Regions from separate parts of the Homo sapiens genome. Here region 1 is linked to region 2. The links are contacts of gene promoters, found by promoter capture Hi-C in human tissues and cell types (Jung and others, 2019). All regions are on one chromosome and are shown on one strand. The core of a region is centred on a gene start or on the middle of the fragment in contact, and the rest is flanking DNA. Distances in the headings are between cores, read along the strand shown.

Region 1 (3,510 bases), core at 701-3,200, 340 kb before region 2:
TCCATTACTATTTTATTGAAAAATCATTATAGTGGTAAGTGAAGCTTAGTAAGATTTGACAAAAAATTGATTAGATAAAGGGAAATTGAACTGTGCAGTAGTTTTGCCCAAAAGATGAAGCTTCTGCCATAGAGTTACATTATAGCTCAGTGGGTGCCCGTTACTCTGAAATATTACTAAAATGTATGACAATACTATTTGGCCCAAAAAGTATGGCAAATAGGAATTCATGTTTTTATTGCATTTGACACTAGTCATTTTGCATTTCTTCCACTTTAATGATGCTGCCCTTTAGTACTAAATATTCTTTTTTCATCCTTACATTCCAGCATCTTACAATATTTTCCCTTTTCATTTTCTTTATTCTCATGTTACTGTATTTTTTTTTTTTTAAGATGGAGTTTGGCTCTTGTTGCCCAGGCTGGAGTGCAATGGTGCAATCTCAACTCACCACAACCTCCGCCTCCCAGGTTCAAGCGATTCTCCTGCCTCAGCCTCCCGAGTAGCTGAGATTACAGACATGCACCACCATGGCTGGCTAATTTTGTATTTTTAGTAGAGACAGGGCTTCTCCATGTTGGTCAGGCTGGTCTTGAACTCCCAACCTCAGGTGATCCGCCTGCCTTGGCCTCCCAAAGTGCTGGGATTACAGGCGTGAGCCACCGTGCCCAGCCTTTTACTCTGTTTTTTAATAATACAAGGTGAAGGTGACTGATTTGCTAATTCATTTTTTTGTTTGTTTGTTTCTTTGTTGAGATAGGGTCTCGCCTTTTTGCCCAGGCTGGAGTGCAGTGGTGTGATCATGGCTCACTGCAGCCTCAACCTACTGGGCTCAAGCGATCTGCCCACCTCTGCCTCCCAAAGTTGTTGAGATTATAGGAGTGAGCCACTGTGCTTGACCTATAATTAATTTTTTGTTTGTTCGTTTCATTTATATTATCCACAGTAATATAAATAGGGTCACAGTGGTTGGTGACTGAGTGGTATGAGCAGACTGATAGATGCACCTGGAGTATCAGTTACAGTGACCGATCTGTGACATGGCATGAAGGCTAGAGATCAGGAATCTACTCCCAAATAGACAGGAAGCTGAGATGACTTCATGGGTTTAGGAGAGTTGACTTCCAGTAAGCATGATGTTTTAAAGCCCAAAATATAGTGACTTTTTCAATAGTGCTTTTTCCATTTCTTTGAGCCAACCAGGTATTATACCAGTAAACACTGTGAATGCAATGATAAATGTAGAACTTATTGGAAGAGATTTGGAAACTAGGGTTGGGTCAAAATGACCTTGAAGAGATGAGTTGAGTTTGAGATTACAAGAAAACATAAAAGTGGGAATAATTTGTGAGTGATCAGAGTAAAGAAAGTAGTTTGTATATAGGAAGTTGATTAATTTTTCAAAAGGGAGTTGGTAGACAAATATAAGTATAGATCTTGGTGACTCTAGAAAGGTACTGAGAACAAGATAGGAAAATTATATCAGTAAGGTAGAAAGAAAACCACTTTAATATTCTGAAAACCAGATGAAAGAACAGTCCCTAGAATATAGGAATAGTCAGCAAATTCCCAGTACTTAAAACTGTACTACACAAAGATAGTCTACTTTATCATTTCCTTTATCTGCAAATTTTCTGATAGAATTTATATGAACTAAGTTACCCTGCAATTTGATTTTTAGGGACTCCAAGGGGTGAAGCAGAAAAATATTAAATATTTAGACAGTGAACTACATACAGGAAGAAATGCATGGCATCTGCAACAAAGCAAATTAATTTACTAATATCTAATCAAAATGGAACAGTAGGAGATGGTCAAGAAAATTCCAGTATAAAAGGAATGGAAAATAGAAATTAATTATAGAGCATTCATAAGATATATATATTGTATCATTATTGGGCTATTTAGTTTGATCTCTTTAGCATTCTTGTAAAGAGAAAAATATTTTAAGCTTCTTCTGCTATTTATTTTTGCTCTCGCTCCCCCCACCCCCACCCCCCAGTTCATGAGGGCTTCAATTCATCTACCATGAATTGTCTTAACACTAGTGGAGAAATTTCACCTACCATTTATATATGGAGGTTTATAATTAACAAAACATTTTAAAATATGTATCTCATTTAAGACCAACAGCAACCAAATGAAGTAAGTGGAAATTATGTTCATCTTCAAAAATGAATTCTTGAAGTATGAAGCTTACTTATAGATGAGGAAACCCAGAGAGATTAGGTGGTTTTATCATGGACCACCATCTGAGTTACAGGCTGAAATCCTGGATTCCCTTTTTTATTAGATTTGAGGTCATGAACAATGTGTACATAAACTTTGAAACTTAGGGGTTTTTTTTTCTACTGTAAGATGAAAGTTTTAAAAATATTACATTGTAAAATATATTTAATATTCTGCTCAGTAGTCTTCGTTTCCATTTTCTTTTCCAAGCCAGCCAACTTGCCTTCCTAAACATGTCCTCTACTTTTCTACTTCGGTGTTATACTCAGGCCATTTATTTGCCTGGCATATTTTCTTTCCCATCTCTGCATCTATTTAAACCTTACTCATTTTTATTTTTATTCTAATGTATTTATTTATTTTAGACGGAATATTTTCTTAAATGGTACTGCTCCTTGCGGAGCAGGGCTGACTCTGAGGCAGGGCTCTCAGAGTCAGCCTAAACCTTACTCATTTTAAAATAACTTTTAAGTACTATGTTGCAGCCAGGCCAACTCCTTTACAAAGTCATCCCTCTCGCTCTCAGTAATTGTGATTGTGTCATTGTTCTGTTTTGTTTTGTTTTTGATTATGTCATTTTTGGAAAAGACATAACACTTTCTATCTTACAGCATTTAACAAAATCTACATTTTATTAGCCATTGCTATACCAGGAAGAACAGTCGTCAGCAACAGTTACCATTTGACCCCAATGGACTGTTTTAAAATATATTTTTAAGTGATATTACAAATAATTTAGAAATATATAAATCAAATCCTGCTTTAAAAACTGCATTGGAAATTAGCAAGAATTTAACAAACTCAAATGTTTCTTGCATGTGTTTCTGGTATGAAGATACTAATTTTCATAATGGGTGATTTCCGTTGAATGCAAGTAATTCTGCATGAATGATCCTGGAACATACCTATTTTGGAAATACTGATTCAGTTTTCAAATACGTTTCTAAGAGGTTCCAGCTTATTGTTCTTGGTGGTTCTTGCATTTACATCCTCAAAATGAAATACTTTTGAAAGTTTTCAGGGCTCGTAATTTTGTTAGAAGGTGGTCATTTTCTTTAGCCTATGACAAAACATTTTCATTTTTAGACATTGATTAGAATGATCAATTTGATTGATTTTTTTCATTTCTATGTTATTTCCTTTCAGTCAGTGCCTTAAGCATTTGTCCACTTATGAGCCATATTTCTTATGTATGGTTTCTTATGTAAATTTCTTAGTACAAACCTCATAAAAGGTAAAATACTGTCACGTGTTCTTTTAGTAAAAATTTTTGTCCAAAAA
Region 2 (3,674 bases), core at 413-2,912:
ACTGCAGAAGCAAGTAAGCCCTATGGTCAGTCCAAATATTTCTCATATGAGAAAAAAGGCCCATAACAGGTAAAAGAGCTGCTAAAAGTCACCTAACTAGTGAATGACAGAACCAGAACTAGCGCTCTGGTCTTTTCATTTAGTCCAGCCTCTTTCTCCATTCCAGCAGGATCACTTTACTCCCATATTCAAAGGAAACAACCTTTAAACCACAGGAATAGAGCTTCTTGAGCTGTTAGGGTAAATTTAATAAGCAAGCAGCTGAGCAGACTGAGAAAACATGGTTACCAGATGGCCACTGGTCAAAGAAACCATGAATGAATGCATCAGTGTCACTTGGAAGTCTTAATTTAAAACAGTATGTCCTTTACTCCGAAGCGTCAGCACCCTTTACCCCAATGTAGCACGTGCTTTAAAGTAAACACTTTCTGGCATAAATTGGGAAAGTAAACAGAAAAACATTAAAACTGTATCACACAAATACATACTTATTCTGATTATATTTTAAGTAATCTGAGAAATGTAGCTATTAGTAAGAGAATCACGGCCACAACATGTGGATGCAATCCAGTTCCTAAGTCGTCAAATTCACGTTTACACAAAAAAGGTGTCTGCCCAGAATTCCGCCTACTGGATCTCAACAGTTACCTTGAGTTCATCTGCAGCTTAGGCAAATGGTGGTCAACTCCGCCACTAGACAAAACTTACTCATTCTGAAAAAGGTCAACCCCTCTCCCTTCTAAGACCTCCTCTCACCCTCTCTCAACTCCTTTTCTTGTTTAAGAAAACATGGATCAGCACGGCCACACTATGGGGTCACTGCTCCGCCTTCCCCATTTCTGTCCGGGTCTCTGGCATCCCCAGGGCCCAGTGCGCCTCATCCGACCTGGGACAGGGTAGGCGCTCAACACACCTTTTAAAATCGAACGAATATGCTTCAACTCTAAGGACTTTAAAGTGTAAGTTTTAAAAGTTTGTTTTCGTTTTTAAATGTGACATCACACACACACACACACACACACACACACAAACACACACACACACCCCAGCGGACACTTTCTCCTACCACCATATTTAAGCAAGAGGCTTCGCCAGTCAAAAAAGCAGTGACACCGTCTGTCTTCCCACTCCCTGAAGACACCCATTCTACCCGGGCGTCTGCCCTTGACCCCATTGATTCTAGGAAGCGGCCGGGCGGCGCTGCCCACAGGCTCCGCCGCCAGCACTAGCAGAGTGACCGCCCGCGGGACCCCAGCGCTGCAGAGGAGCCCCGCGCCCCCGGCCCAATTCTCCCAAACAAAGGCCGAGGGGGAGGGGAGGGACGCGGGGGTCGAAGGCCTACAGGAAGAGGAGCTGCGGGTGCCACGGGTCAGGCAGGCTGGGCACCTTTGCCCGGGAGCCCTCTGGGCGGAGGCAGAGATACTTACGGCGGTCTCGTCGCGGTACACGTCGGGGTACTGAAGGGACAGCATGGCCGGGGACAGGCAGGGGGCAGCGTGGAGGGGCGCGGGCTCCGGGAGCGGACCTGAGCTAGCCGGGCTGGCCGCGAGGCGCGGCTGGGGCGCAGGCAGCTGCGGGGCGGCCGGCGGCAGCGGGCGGCCGGCTCACGGCCAGAGCTAGCACAAACGGACTGGCGGCGCGGCGGCGAGGACGTGCAGAAAGCAGGAAGCCGCTGTCTGCGAGGCCGGGAGCCCCTCCCCGGCGGGCGGGCCCAGCGGCGGCGGCGGCGGCAAGAGGGAGCGGGCGGCACCGAGCGTGCGCTAAGGCCGGCGCACAGCTCCCTCTGCAGGATCGCCGGCCGCGCCCGCGCCGCCCGGGCGCACGGAGGAGCACGCCGGCTACGCGCTCGCCCACGCCCGGCCGCCCGCCCGTCCTCTGCGCCGGGGACAAGTCCTTCCACCGAGGCCGGGTCCCCGCGCCTTCCCTAGCGCCCTGCCTCTCTTTGGCCGCGCTCGCAGGACCGCCTGTAGGAGAGTGAAGCCCCAGGGTTTCCTTGCTGATGGAGTCCCCCACCTTCCCCAGCCTTCCTGTTCCCGGGCTGGTTACGGCGGCGAAGGGAGACCTTGCCTCTCCCCAGCCTTGGAAGCAGAGGGCTGGAGGTGGCCTTATGTCCACTGCCTGCGACTCTGGACTTGAAGGGAAGAAGTAATCGATCATGATGACCGTGAAAGAAACACGTCTCCCTTCATCCCAGGACCCCTGGTGGACACTGGGTGGTTTAGCATCCGGACTATGGAGATGCTTTGGAGGTGTTGGCAGGACTACGGTTGAGCCCTTATTTGATATTTACCGATTGAGAAAGAACCAAGATTAAGAGGCCTGGAACTCATCAGGGGTATTTTATTTATCCTGCCTTTTCCTCATTTCCTCTCCTGCTGTCATGCTTGTTTATTGAGCACCTACTGTTTATGGGAAGAAAAGATAATAGACAAGATACTTGACCTCAAACCCATGAAAATTTAATAGTTACATGTCATCATCCTCGGGCCAGCAGCGGTATGTGTTCTGGTCTTGCTTCCTGGACCACCCAGAAGAGACTTTATAGCCCCAGCCATCAGGGGTATAGTGTGTGCCCAGTGTGTTTTCTATCCCTGGCTTCCAAAAAGTCCTGGAAGAAAGAATAGGTGTGACCAGAAAGTCCTTCACCTCCGGAATCTAAGTGGATATGGTAACTATTATAAACTTGTGTCCTCCGTCTCTTTTGTGATATGGTCCCAATTCCATGCCTCACCCTTAGTTCACCATTTCTGTTCATAGTGATGTGTCATAATCATTTTCTGCATCTGATCCCAGATACCCCCTCCTGGGGCAATCTGAGAATCCTCAATTCTGGGAGAACTCACGCTATTGATAACAAACTTTGTGCAAACACGGGGGCATAGCCCACTACAGCCCAGAAGTCCCAATTCCAGTTCCCACCTCGTGCCTTCCCTGGCTGTCACCTGACGCAGGGACTGGCAGGCATTGTCTCCTCCTTCTGCCACTGTGAGGGATTTTTTAAAGAGCAACCCAGGAGCACTTGACCCAGCAGACCCCCTAATGATAATATTAATGCTTATGGAGTGTTTTTTTCAGTGTATCAGGAAACTATCTAGAACTAATGTCCCTATTTTATAGTTAAGGAAAACGGGCTGACTTTTGCCCAGGACTTCACAAAAAGTGAAAAAGTAGAGCCAGGATTCCAACCTAGGTCTCTCCAATACCAATGCTCATTCTTAACCACTCTGACGGCCTTCCTACTCATAAATAAGTAGAGATACTCTAGAGTCTACAGGGCACCCATTTGCAGGGAAAACTTCAATTTAGCAGGACCTAAAGAAAATGTGGGAATTGTGGTACCCAAAGGACAAATCAAACCTAGGTATCATCCTCTCTTCCCTTTCAGTCAGCCGTTCTGGTGCCCAGTTCCTCTGGGCCCTGAGAGGTAAAGGTTTGTAGTGGCACAGACAGTGCAAGAGGCTCCCAGCAGTAGGTTGTCTGCATCTGGAGTGAGATGGAGTGGGAGGGAAGATGGGAGAGCACCCTTTCCCCTCCTATTGACCACGTTAGTTGCACTTTTGTTTGCCAATGTGTTGTCTCCTTTAATCCTTATAGCAAAGACCATTTTACAGATGAGGAAAAAGAATCTCAGCAGCTTTAAGGGAATGAGTTCAAAGTCATCACACAGCTAAGAC

What was found. The method cuts DNA at HindIII sites, captures the fragments that hold promoters and counts their contacts. A contact is called where the count stands out against the background at its distance.
Region 1: a fragment that was not itself captured here is called in contact with the fragment with the promoter of PREP in region 2 in 2 of the 25 tissues and cell types used here (H1 embryonic stem cells and heart left ventricle).

Annotation. Positions count from the first base shown.
Region 1 is chr6:105,059,529-105,063,038 of GRCh38, forward strand. All of the region lies in intron 3 of LIN28B (lin-28 RNA binding posttranscriptional regulator B), which reads left to right. Among named protein-coding and RNA genes, the nearest start is that of POPDC1, 76 kb to the right of the region's middle. The HindIII fragment of the contact is 5,121 bases long and covers 1-3,510 here.
Region 2 is chr6:105,401,420-105,405,093 of GRCh38, forward strand. It overlaps PREP (prolyl endopeptidase), which reads right to left and starts at 1,663. Exons shown (of 15, transcript NM_002726.5): 1 at 1,428-1,663. The coding sequence starts at 1,472. RefSeq lists a silencer at 1,371-1,940. The HindIII fragment of the contact is 9,128 bases long and covers 1-3,674 here.